4 separate regions of the Homo sapiens genome follow, and all the other regions are linked to region 4. The links are contacts of gene promoters, found by promoter capture Hi-C in human tissues and cell types (Jung and others, 2019). All regions are on one chromosome and are shown on one strand. Each heading gives the region's core, a stretch centred on a gene start or on the middle of the fragment in contact. The rest is flanking DNA. Distances are from core to core; before and after follow the strand shown.

Evidence for each region. Contacts are between HindIII fragments. The study calls those that stand out against the background at their distance.
Region 1: the fragment with the promoter of TMCO2 here is called in contact with a fragment that was not itself captured in region 4 in 1 of the 25 tissues and cell types used here (hippocampus).
Region 2: the fragment with the promoter of SLFNL1 here is called in contact with a fragment that was not itself captured in region 4 in 4 of the 25 tissues and cell types used here (adrenal gland, bladder, dorsolateral prefrontal cortex and 1 more).
Region 3: the fragment with the promoter of COL9A2 here is called in contact with a fragment that was not itself captured in region 4 in 1 of the 25 tissues and cell types used here (small bowel).

The regions. Positions count from the first base shown.
Region 1 is chr1:40,246,509-40,249,666 of GRCh38, reverse strand. It overlaps TMCO2 (transmembrane and coiled-coil domains 2), which reads right to left and starts at 1,730. Exons shown (of 2, transcript NM_001008740.4): 1 at 1,437-1,730. The coding sequence starts at 1,673. The HindIII fragment of the contact is 6,512 bases long and covers 1-3,158 here.
Region 2 is chr1:41,020,046-41,023,184 of GRCh38, reverse strand. SLFNL1 (schlafen like 1) reads left to right here and starts at 1,460. Exons shown (of 6, transcript NM_144990.4): 1 at 1,460-1,562; 2 at 2,315-2,321; 3 at 2,407-2,959. The coding sequence starts at 2,525. All of the region lies in intron 1 of SLFNL1-AS1 (SLFNL1 antisense RNA 1), which reads right to left. The HindIII fragment of the contact is 20,466 bases long and covers 1-3,139 here.
Region 3 is chr1:40,316,009-40,318,794 of GRCh38, reverse strand. It overlaps COL9A2 (collagen type IX alpha 2 chain), which reads left to right and starts at 1,509. Exons shown (of 32, transcript NM_001852.4): 1 at 1,509-1,672. The coding sequence starts at 1,598. RefSeq lists enhancers at 1,378-2,014, 2,015-2,651 and a silencer at 1,825-2,334. The HindIII fragment of the contact is 32,999 bases long and covers 1-2,786 here.
Region 4 is chr1:40,682,873-40,685,795 of GRCh38, reverse strand. It overlaps a transcript of RIMS3 not described here. Among named protein-coding and RNA genes, the nearest start is that of NFYC, 7.4 kb to the left of the region's middle. The HindIII fragment of the contact is 8,762 bases long and covers 1-2,923 here.

The sequences.
Region 1 (3,158 bases), core at 481-2,980, 440 kb after region 4:
GAATATGTATAGTAGGACAGATTCTTGCTAGGATAAGAAAAAAAATCATCTTGTTCCTTATTATAACAACTAGCACCACTTTTTTTTTTTTTGAGACACAGTCTTTGTCGCCCAGGCTGGAGTGCAGTGGCACGATCTTGGCTCACTGCAACCTCCACCTCCCGGGTTCAAGCAATTCTTCTGCCTCAGCCTCCTGAGTAGCTGGGACTACAGGCGCGTGCCACCACCACACCCGGCTAATTTTTGTATTTTAAGTAGAGATGGGGTTTCACTGTAGCACCACTTATTGAATATATGTGCTAAGATTTACACATACAATATCTTCTTTAATCCTCACAATACACATATATATGCGCATGCGCGTACACACACACACACACACACACACACACACACACACACACACACACATTCCTGTTCAAGATTTAGGTCAGTTGGTTTGCATTAAATGAGATTTTGGAGAAGAACTGAATTTCAAATCCTAAAAATTCGATTCAAACTCCAATTTTGCCAGCTCTTACAAACTATGTGAACTTGGGTGGGTAGCAATCAAGTTCTCTCATCTACAAAATGGAGCAAATAATCTCTCCCTGACTGTTATGCAGGATTGTGATGGTTTAAAATAGAAAGGCCCCGTGACCATGATTACTAAACAATAGTGACATATGAAAATAAGTGAATGCTAAAAAATGATCCAATAACAACTTCTCTCTGCATTTATCAAGTAAACTTGTCACTCTAAGAAAGCCGTTTTAAAAGCCTGTCACCTTAAGTTTCCACTGAACCTCAGTGCACCTCAGTTTCTTCACTTGTCATGTGAAAATAATCTCCATCCATTTCATGGAATTTTTGAGATTCTCAAAGCATTCAACTATATTGTATGTCAACTATTATTATTGGTGACTACACAGAAGTATGTAAAATCCTGTCTCTCACAATCCCAGCCAGTTAAATTCCTACTCCCCAAAGAGCTCCTATATACTTATGGAGCCTTATCTTGTCAAAACACAATAATGAACACATTGTGATGACTTAATACATATGCCTCCTTATCAGTTACAGAACAATGGCATAGTAAGAAAGGCCATACTCATGATCCTAGCTACTTTGGTGCCTATTGTATAAACATAGTAGCACTCAAAGATGAATAAGTGATCAAAAATTTTTGAGGGTAAGGCTGTCTTTTCAGGTTACCAACATGTTTGGTCTATTTTATTACAGAAGACAAGCCAAAGACCATTGTGAGAAAAGCATTTTTATGCCCAAAGCCTAATTGGTGGAGATTTTCAAGGATAACCTAGTTTTTGCCAACTTAAGAGACAAAGGTTCGCCTTTGCACATCTGCATGATCTTAAAACTGGTGGCAGCAATATGGGAGAGAACTAATCAAATTTCAATTTATAACTATATAAATGTTTGTAACAAAAGAGTATAACCTGAATTGACTGAATACTTCGTTTCCATAAGGCATATATTCCTATTCCCAATAAAATCAAGAAAGAAATCCTCAAGATGATTTGCACAGCTGGAGCAAGATTATCTAATAGTCCCAAACTTGTTTGCTGAGGTGCACTAGTCTCTCCCAAAAAACTTGCTTGTATCCAATTCCATACTGTGCTGAGAGAGAGAGACTCTAAGAGGTTGTCCCAGCTAGAAGATGAAGATGTTGACATTTTAATAAGCAGCAGCTCTAGGAACTACATGTGCAGAAGCTTCAGGAATCTAAATATGAGTTAGGGGGAGTAGTCTGGAGGCCTAGGTATTCCAGAGCCATTGTGAGCTGTGCTTTGTGATGTCACTGTTCCAAAGGTCAGCTTGCTTCCCACTCACCCAACCAATGAATCTTACTCAAAACCAACCAGGCACCGGCCTGGGTTTTCAGTTCATTCATATTGCTTTGTCTGATCTTTGGCTAGTTCTGGCTCTAGCATAGTGCTGTCCAGTACAACTTTTTGCAATAATGAAAATGTTCTTTATCTGCCATGTCCAATATGGTAACCACTAGTTACCTGAAATGTGAATAGTGCAGCAGAGATTGCATTTTACATTTTAACTAAATTTGGCTGGGCATGGTGGCTCACGCCTGTAATCCCAGCACTTTGGGAGGCTGAGGCAGGTGGATCACTTGAGCCCAGGAGTTCGAGACCAGCCTGGCCAACATGGTGAAATCTTGTCTCTACTAAAAATACAAAAATTAGCCTGACGTGGTGGTGCACACCTGTAGTCCCAGCTACTTGGGAGGCTGAAGCAGGAGAATCACTTGAACCTGGGAGGCAGAGGTTGCAGTGAGCTGATGTTGTGCTCCAGCCTTGGTGACAGAACGAGACTCCATCTAAAAAAAAAAAAAAAAAAGTTAAATAGCCACCTGTGGCTAGTGGCTTCTCTCTTGGTTAGTGTAGATCTACATTTCCAACAATTCAAATGGACAGCAGCTGTTGCAGCTGTTTTCACATAATAAAAAAAACTGAGTTGTATTGAGGTTGAATGGAAATGTGAGGAGATGGGATTTTTTATTTTTATTTTTTTGAGCTGGCGTGTCACTCTGTCGCCCAGGCTGGAGTGCAGTGGTGCGATCTCAGCTCACTGCAACCTATGCCTCCTAGGTTCAAGCGATTCTCCTGCCTCAGCCTCCTGAGTAGCTGGGATTACAGGCGCCCGCCACCACGCCTGGCTAATTTTTTGTATTTTTAGTAGAGATGGGGTTTCACCATTTTGGCCAGGCTGGTCTAGAATGCCTGACCTCAAGTGATCCACCTGCCCTGGCCTCCCAAAGTGCAGAGATTACAGGCATGAGCCACTGCACCCAGCAAGGAGGTAGGATATAAACAGGGCTTTTTTTTTTTTTTTTTTTTTTTTTTTTTTTTTTTTTTGAGGCGGGGTTTTGGTCTCGCCCTGTCTCCCAGGCTGGAGTGCAGTGGCGCAATCTTGGCTCACTGCAACCTCTGCCTCTGGGGTTCAAGCGATTCTCCTGGCTCAGCCTCCTGAGTAGCTGGGATTACAGGCATGTGCCACCACGCCTGGCTAATTTTTTTATTTTTAGTAGAGACGGGGCTTTACCATGTTGGTTAGGCTGGTCTCGAACTCCTGACCTCGTGATCCACCCGCCTAGGCCTCCCAAAGTGCTGGGATTACAGGCGTGAACCACCACACTCGGCCTT
Region 2 (3,139 bases), core at 211-2,710, 340 kb before region 4:
CCTAATACTAGAGAGCCAGAGACACCGTAAATAACCTTGTTATCTTATATTTATGTATTTAAAAGATGGTTCATAAATGTGTTTAGTGCTTACCATGAAAGACAATTTTTACCCCCATCTCCAAAAAGAAGTAGAACTGATTCAGCTCACAGAAGGCTGTTAAAGGCGCCAGAGAAATATGTGATGCAGTGGCTTAAAGAGACTGCCAGGAAGAGTGGGGAAAGTTGCTGCACTCAAGTCAATTTGGGAAATTTCATGCAGAACAGCCACCCAATAGCAAGGCCTCTAGGTAAGTAGGGAGAACGCCTCTGGTCATGTTCAGGTGTTTCGTCTGTCAAGGTGCTTCTCCCGGACAGCTATTTCTGCACAGTTCAACACGACTTGAGTTGGCCATCTCAAAACAGCTATAGCCTCAGTTGCTGTGAGGGCACCTCATGGATGACAGAGGCAAGAAAGGCTTGAGGGAGAGGGGGTGAGGCAGGGGGAGCTTGGAGCCGTCATTCTCTAACCCTAAGAGCTGTGGACACAAAGCCGAGCCCAACCTGGCTGCTGCCCGGGCGGGCAAGGAGAGGGCACCGAATGCACTCTCCCCAGAGCCTCGCACTGCCACCAGTTGAGGCCTGCGCCCCTCTCTTCCCCGCACACCATAGCCTCTTTTCTTGAGTGCTCTACCCAAACTACTGCCTCACCCCCTAGGAAACAAACATTTGGTAACATCTTCAGAAAGGCTGCTTTCAAGGAAGGCAGCTTCTCTACGCTGTCAAACAGCTTTCTTAGTTGAAGCATCTAACTGTGGCACCATCCTTACTGCCCCCAATTGGGGCTTCCAGAAGCAGTGTGGGCAAGCGCTGCCAGCCTTCTGCAGAATGATGAGCACTGGTCAGTCCTGTGCTGATAAAGACTGTGTGTCACCCACGTCTTGGTTTCTCCAACAGCAGGTAACAACCTCATCTTCCCAAAGAGATAGATAGCTACGCCTGACCTATTTTTCAGGGCTCTTCTGGACAGCAGCCTCTGTCTCCAGCACAGAGAAGGGCCTGGCGTCAGGGGGAGCCCTGGAGCCTACCATGTGCCTCCTGCTCCATCTTGGGAGCAGCTGGGCCCTGTCAGTACTCAGTAGAGCCTGGGATTGGTGACTGACTAAAGAGGGAGGTGGAGGCTTTAGGCAGCAGCGCTGAAAGAGGTGGCAAGAGGTGACCTGCATGGGAACTGGGGCCTGAAGAGACATCACTAAGTGGGGAAGTGTGTCCCACAGCCAAGCTGCATGGTGGGTGGGCCGCTGGGTCTGCTTCCAGTGTGTGGTGGGACCCACAGGGAGCTGAGTTTTCCTGTTTGATTTCCCGCACCCAGCCTGCCTGTGGCTGGCCAAGAAGGCATTGTTGAACCTCATGAGATCACAGAGGTAGCTGTGCAGGCCCCGCCCACTTCCTATAACCCTGGTTCTGGCCGTCCCTGTGCCAAGCCTCCAAGTTCCCTGAGAGCTACCGGCCAGGGGTCGGGAGGCTATGGGAGCTCAGGGCAGGCACCTCCCATGCTCCCGCGGGAGCCACCAGGACATGAAGGTCATAGGCCTCTCCTCTCCTCCTCTTCCTGTTTGACCTGAATGCCCCCAGGCCAACTGCCTCAAGGATTCCATTTGAGAAGATGCAGGCTGGGTGTGTGGGGAGCAGTAGAGGGGCTGGTGTGTGCACATATGTGCACAGCTCAGGACAGAGGCTCCCTGGACTTGGGGCGGGGGCACTAGGGCCCCAACTCTAACCCTCGTTCTGCCCTGTTGACCTCTGCTCTCTGGACCAAAAATGGAGGACTCAGTCTAGACTAGTTCTTAGGGTCTAGGAGCCACCTTAAGTTATGTTTATATGCAAAGGCCATTTTTCTGAGAGGCCATAGCTTTCATCAGTGTGCCAAAAAGCGTGAGATCCTCTGCTCTAAAAGCCTCTGCCCCAGCGCTGCCTAGTTTCAGAGCCCCCGATGGCCTCACATGGGGTTTTAGAGCAGGCAGAGAAGCTGCAATGGGGCCACCAGCCAGTCCTCAGAGTCCTGGGTTAAGGCCTCCTCTCCAGGAGGCCCTGTGTAAAGGTTTTCTCTGTTGCCTGGAGGCAGGAGTGAACTGGTAGGCAGGAAACCCTGAGGGTACCTAGGAGGCCCCTAGCCTGTGGGTTGGGGAGGGAAGACAGGACCCCTGGGGCCACTGAAATGGTGGAGCTCTCAGAGACCTGAGTTCTGGTCCCTTCTGCCACTTTTTGGGCAGATCCCGTCTTCCCACAGGCCCTGTGTCTTGCTCAGTCCACGTGACTCTGCTTTCTCATCCTAGGCCTCAGGTGGGTGGCAGGCCCTTTCCTGCTTGCCCTCTGCCCTCCCTCTCTCTGGCCCTGCCCAGTCTCTGCCAATCTGTGTACCTCCCAGGAGCCGGGACACTCCCTGAGTCCTCTGGGAGCCCTTAAGCCACACTGAGAACACAGACCCTGGGAGAAGCAGCCAGCAGTGAGGAATCCTGGAACCCCTTCCCAGGGAGAGCCTTCCCATGACCCCCATGAAGAGATCAGTGCAAACACAGGTGTCAGAGCCCTTCATGGAGTCCTGGGGTGAGGAGTCCCTGCCGGAGCTACCCGCAGAGCAGTCCCTGACGGAGTACTCTGACCTCGAGGAGGCTCCCTCGGCGCACACTCTCTATGTGGGCCATCTGAACCCCCAGTTCTCAGTGCCGGTGCTTGCCTGCCTGCTGCGAGACACCCTGGAGCGGCTGGAGATGCCGGTGGCGCGGGAGCACATTGAAGTGGTGAGGCGGCCGCGGAAGGCCTATGCACTGGTGCAGGTGACTGTCCACAGGGACACCCTGGCCTCCCTCCCCTGGCGCCTGCAGACGGCCCTGGAGGAGCACCTAATCCTCAAGGAGCTGGCAGCCCGTGGGAAGGACCTGCTATTGAGTGAGGCCCAAGGGCCCTTCAGCCACAGAGAGGTAAGTGGGACTTTTCCCAAGCAAGCTCCAAAGCCTCACCCCAAGGGAGAGCCTCTGAGTGGGAGTGGCCTGCAGAGTGGGGATGGAGGGGTGTCTCTGGGGAAGCAGGGACAAATCTGCAAACTTGGGGGCTGCCACTCAAATGACCATGGCTTGCGGCTGGTACTGCCAGCTTTCTCT
Region 3 (2,786 bases), core at 260-2,759, 370 kb after region 4:
TAGGTTCATCATTTTAGCTGATCTGCCTGTGGCCAGCTTCCCCACATTGGATGCCAACCTAGTAAAACAGTCATCCATAAATCATAAGGAAAGCTAAAATGTATCAAGCACCTACTATGTGCTGGTTCGAGGTTAAATGCCTCGCATGAGTCATCTCATTCAATTTCCACAAAAACCCTTTAAGATAAGGACAATTTGCTGGGCACGGTGGCTCATGCCTGTAATCCCAACACTTTGGGAGGCTGAGGCAGGCAGATCACCTGAAGTCAGGAGTTCAAGAGCAGTCTGGCCAACATGGCGAAACCCCATCTCTACTAAAAATATAAAAATTAGCCAGGCATTGTGGCTCATGCCTGTAATTCCAGCTACTCGAGAGGCTGAGGCAGGGGAATCATTTGAACCCGCGAGGCGAGGTTGCAGTTAGCTGACATCGTGCCACTGCACTCCAGAGCCTTTTAAGACTCTGTCTTAAAAAAAAAATATATATATATATATATATGGACTATTAGTATCCCCATTTTACAGATGAGGAAAATGAGACTTCATAGAGTTTGGGGTGCCTGTGGTCATATCTATAATTGTGAAAAAGTCAGATTCCAAAGCATTTTACCAATATTGCCTAAGTGAGTGGGAGGGAAGGGAAGGCTCTCTGGAGTCGGGCTATGCTGGACAGCGGGGTTCGGAAACTCTGGTGAATAAAGTGGTAGTTGTTTCTATGAACATGGAGTGAGAAGGCCCAATCCTAAACACACCAGTGCTTAAGGCAGCTGCAGAGAATTAAAGGCAATAGAAAAAGGGGAGCTGGATGGCAGGAGCTTGGATGGGGAAGACTTCAAGGGCAGGTGAAGATGCCAACAGCTTCCTGCCTGGAGGACCGAAGAAGGGTTGGGCTTCACTGCAGACCTCCAGGAGACAGATTTGCTTGTTGGGACAGAGTAGGGAGGTGAAAGCGAGGTGAGGAAGTTCGGGGGTGGGGGAGGTGCACACAGCTCCACTAAAGAGCTGGAAGAGGCCGATGGAGTATTCATGAGACGGCTGATCCAGGAAGGACTGTGGCATATTAATATGGAAAAGGCCTGTTTGTTTGTGCTTGGAGAGGAAGGAGCCAGAGGAGAGGGGAGCAAGGTGGGCGGGAGCTGGGGAGAGCCTGCAGCAAGATCTGCAGAGCCCGAGGTGCTCTCGGCCTGGGCCCTGGAGAGGACGTAGGGTAAGTGATGGGGCACAGGCTGTGCGTCAGGGGGAAGGTGCTGGGGCCTGAAGGTCCCGAGGGGAACCTCAGACGGCCTTATGCCTTCTCACAAAGAAACTGGACCATCATCTCCGACCCGCACCCCGGTCGCCCCTCGAGGACAGAGGGTGGGCGCAGGAGGCTGGACCGAGCGGGGCGGAGCTGGATGCCTGGCGCCGGCCTCCCTCCCGGCAACCCCGCCGGTCCTCTCAGGTGACAGCTCACGCCGGCCCCCGCCCCGCCCCCCGCATATTCAGGAGCCCCAGCCCACCCTGCCCGCGAACAGCCAGCGCTGGAGGAGCGCCGGGAGACTCTGCCGTCGGTGCGTGCGCGGACACGCACCCGTCCCCCTTGGTCTCGCCGCCAGCCATGGCCGCCGCTACGGCCTCCCCCCGCAGCCTCCTTGTTCTCCTCCAGGTGGTAGTGCTCGCTCTGGCGCAGATTGTAAGTTTCGCAGCCCCTCCGCTGCCAGGGTCCAGGGTGCGGGGTCTGGAGTCCGGGATGGAGGAGCTCTGCCTGTGTCCCGCGCCTACTGACACCCCTAGCCCGAGAGGCCACCTGAGGACAGCGCCGCGGGCAGGTCCCCTCGGTGGGTGCATACATGGTGCCCATCGCGGCACCGTGAATGGAGGTGGCTGAGCCGGAGAGTCAAACGGGACCCGTCCCCAGACGCGCGGCCCGGCCCGGGACAGGCAGCGTGGGGCAGGAGCTGGCGCCCGGTCCTGGCAGCCCGGGGAGCCCAGGTGGCGGGGCATACAATGGTGCTCATTCACCCGCTGCGCAGCCTCCGCCCCCGCCGCCTCCCAGGGGGCGCCGGCTCCAACCAGACGCCGCTGTCGCCCCGAGGCGGCCTCTCGGCCCTGCCCGCCTACCCACGTCTCCCTTCCGAGGGCCGCCGGGGGCTGCGGGCGCGCGGGTAGGGCAGAGACTGGGCCCGGTCGGGTGCTGGGTGTGGTTTCGAGCTCGCCTGCGGGGCGCCAGCCTGGCACTTCGCGGCCTGGGGAGGTCGTGGGCACCGGGACCCCTGCCTGGGTCCGAGCTGGCCTCTTAAAAGGGCCGCCTTTTAAGATCTCTGATCTGTTCAGAGATGGGCAGCAGGATGGAGACTCTCCAGCTGTGAGCTCGCCTCATCTTGATATGACTTGTGACCTCCCTGAAACCTCACACCCACCCAGGGGCATTGAATTGCAGGCAAACGGGATCCAGAGAGAGGGTCTGCTTTCTGGGAGGTGCCGGCTCCTCCTGCTCCCCTGCAGCAGTCAGGGCTTAGCAGAGGGAGGACCGGGCAGCTGTGCTGCCGAAGGGGCGCTCCGAGTGGGAAGATAGTACCCGCTTCACCTCCCTACACCTCCTTTCTCTGCGCCTCCCCCACTTTCCCGTCGGGTTTTCCCGCACCATGGGGAGAGGAGGAGGCGCTGTCTCTGCCTGTCGTTCACGTAAGAACAACAACCCGAGCCACCGCTCACTGAGGGCCGGCAGCCTGCTAGGCACAACCTTACATTCCATCTGTGATTTATTTGAGCTGTCCACGTCTCCATCTATTCCCCACCGCGACCGC
Region 4 (2,923 bases), core at 155-2,654:
GGGAGGGTGTGTGGCCATGAGAATGTGCTTCTCAGATCTCTGACTGAGGAAATTGTAATTTACCAGCAGTCCAGCTGCTGAGTTCTGAAATCCATCCTGAGCTTTGAAATCCATTGCCCTTTACTCCGAGGTCTTACTTCCCATACGCTGCTCATAGCCAATAACTGAGCCCAACGGGGATTTTAGGACAGGACTGTTCCTGGGATAAGTGATACTCTTCCGATGGGTGACTTTGACTCAAGGACTCCTCAATGGCCTTGCCAAACTTTCCTTAGAACTTCATTGCAGTCTGAGACACTTCCACCTTGAACACCTTCCCTCTGTCCTTCACTCAGGGTCAGGCCTGCGTCACTGTGCGATGGCTCTCTCAGTCTTCCCCTTCCATTTCCTCTCATAATAAATTTTTTTATTTATTATATATTAATATATATTATATTATATAATATATATATAATATAATTATATTATATATTAATAATTATATATATTAATATATATAATATATATATTAATAAATTATGTTTTTCATAATAAATTTATTGCATTTTATTCTGTCTTGGCGTTTGATTTCCTGAGACTCTGAACTAACATGAAGGGAAAGAGGACAGGATGCATCCTACCATAGCACATCTTCTGTACCCCATTAGCCACAGGAGTAGGAACATGACCCAGTCTGACCAATCAGCGATCTCCCACATCTTGGCCCAGTACCTCCTCATAGCCTCTCAGGGTAATTTGGCTCCCAGACAATTAGCCACTTGGTCCACCTCAACAACAGACATAGCTGACCAAATCTAAGCGAGGTCTCACAGTTCTGTTGCTTGAGGCCATCAAGTTACAAACATGGAGTCTATGGCTTCTCCTGCAACTTCCAGACCCTGATGAAACACCACCTCACAGAGCGTGGGATTTGGCTTCCTGAGCAGCTGCTGAAGGAGCCAGTGAAGCAACCTACTACAGAGGATTTAGCTACCCACAGAGCAAACTGATCAATGGGAGACAGGAAGGAGCTGGCTATAACAATCCACTCTTCCCTTCCTTCCTCTAATGAGCTGTTTCAAGATAAAATTTCTCCATACAACCTGTCTAGAGAGACATTCTCCATGGCCAAGTGGGTGCGCCTGTCAAGAGACTAGCTACAGCTCATTGTGAAGTAGCCAGCAAACATTTCCTTCCCTTGCTTCTCATGTTTTCCCACTTTCTCTTATCCTTAATTCTCACTACTCCATGGCTGTGCCCCTCATATAAAGCTTTAGCACTTAATCCCTTCTTCCGGCTTTGTTTTCTAGGAAACCTTGCTAAAACAGATCACAGTTTTTGAAGAGATGGGCACATCACCCAAACTAAGCTAAGAAAAGCCCTTCTAAAGATTTGAAATATATAAGAAAGACAGGATTTTTCTTCTGGAGATCTTGAGCTATGAGGAACTGAGGGCAGCCATTATTCTTGCTTCATGGAAAGAGCCTTTCTAAGAATGAAGACATCACAGAGGAAGGCAGAATTCAGACAGAGAGGGAGACAGAGTCCTGACATCCTTTGAACACCTAGATCCAACTTTCCCCAATATGTGTAACCATTTTGTCATTGCTTTATCATTCTGAAGACCAGTTTTCCCAATCCATGTCATATAAAACATGGTAACCAATTAGTCCCAAGTTGCCTCCATTCAAAAAATCATCCAGGTGACTAGATTCTTAGGCTCAATTTCAAATTTCTGGGAGGAAGAGCTCTTGTTAGAGCTAGCTTTGGCCAAATGTCCACCACTGAATCAAGTATCATTATGGAAAGGGGGACAGGGTCATGCATAAACATGGTTGTATCTACTGTAACTCTATGAATGAAGGTATGCTGGAGGGTAGAGGATAGAGTAACACTTCTCAGAAAAGTAGGAGTAAAGGATTAGGCAGACTAAACAATGTCTGTCCACTTCCTGAGAATAAATAAAGGAAAAGAGGGTAAAGAGGTCAGAGGACAGAACCTTTATCTAACCAACACTATCCAACAGAGCTTTCTGCAGTGGTAGAAATGCTTTATATCTGTGCTGTTCAATACAGTAGCCACTAGCCACGTGTAGCTGTTGAGCATTTGAAAGATGGTTAGTGCAACCAAGAAATTGAATTTTTCATTTTGTTTACATTGAAATAGCTACAGGTAGTATCTTAGTTTTCTGCTGCTATAACAAAATACCAAAGACTGGGTAATTTATAAACAAAGGAAATGTATTTGGGTTGTGGTTCTGGAGGCTGGAAAGCCCAAGAGCATGGCACCAGCATTTGCTCGACATCTGGTGAGGGCCTTCTTGCCACACCATAACGTGGCAGAAGATATCACATGGTGAGGAAGTGTGCATGTGAGAGAGGGAGGGGGGCCAAACGTATCCTTTTATCTGGAGTCCACTCCCTCCATAACTAACCCATTCCCATGCATTAATCCATTTATGAGGGCAGAGCCCTCGTGACCTCATCACCTCTTAAGTGTTCCACTTCTCAACGTTGTTAAAATAGCAATTAAATTTCAACTTGAGTTTTGGAGGGACATTCAAACCATAGCATGTAGCGAATGACTGCATATTAGACAGCATAGGTCTAGACTATTGGTCTACTTTGGGAAGCAGCATGGAATATTGTCTGCAGCATGTGCTTTGAAGTTAGCCTGAGTTCGAGTCCCCATTCCATTTACTTAACCTCTCTGAGCTAGAGAGGTGAAAGATGCAAAGAAAGTTGTATGTAATACCACAAAGAGAGAAAGAGACAAAAGATCTGCAAAAGTTCAGCCAGGCACAGTGACTCATGCCTTTGGGAGGCCAAGGCAGGCAGATCATGAGGTCAGGAGTTCAAGACCAGCCTGGCCAACATGGTGAAACCCTATCTCTACTAAAAATACAAAAATTAGCTGGGTGTGATGGTAGGTGCTTGTAGGCCCA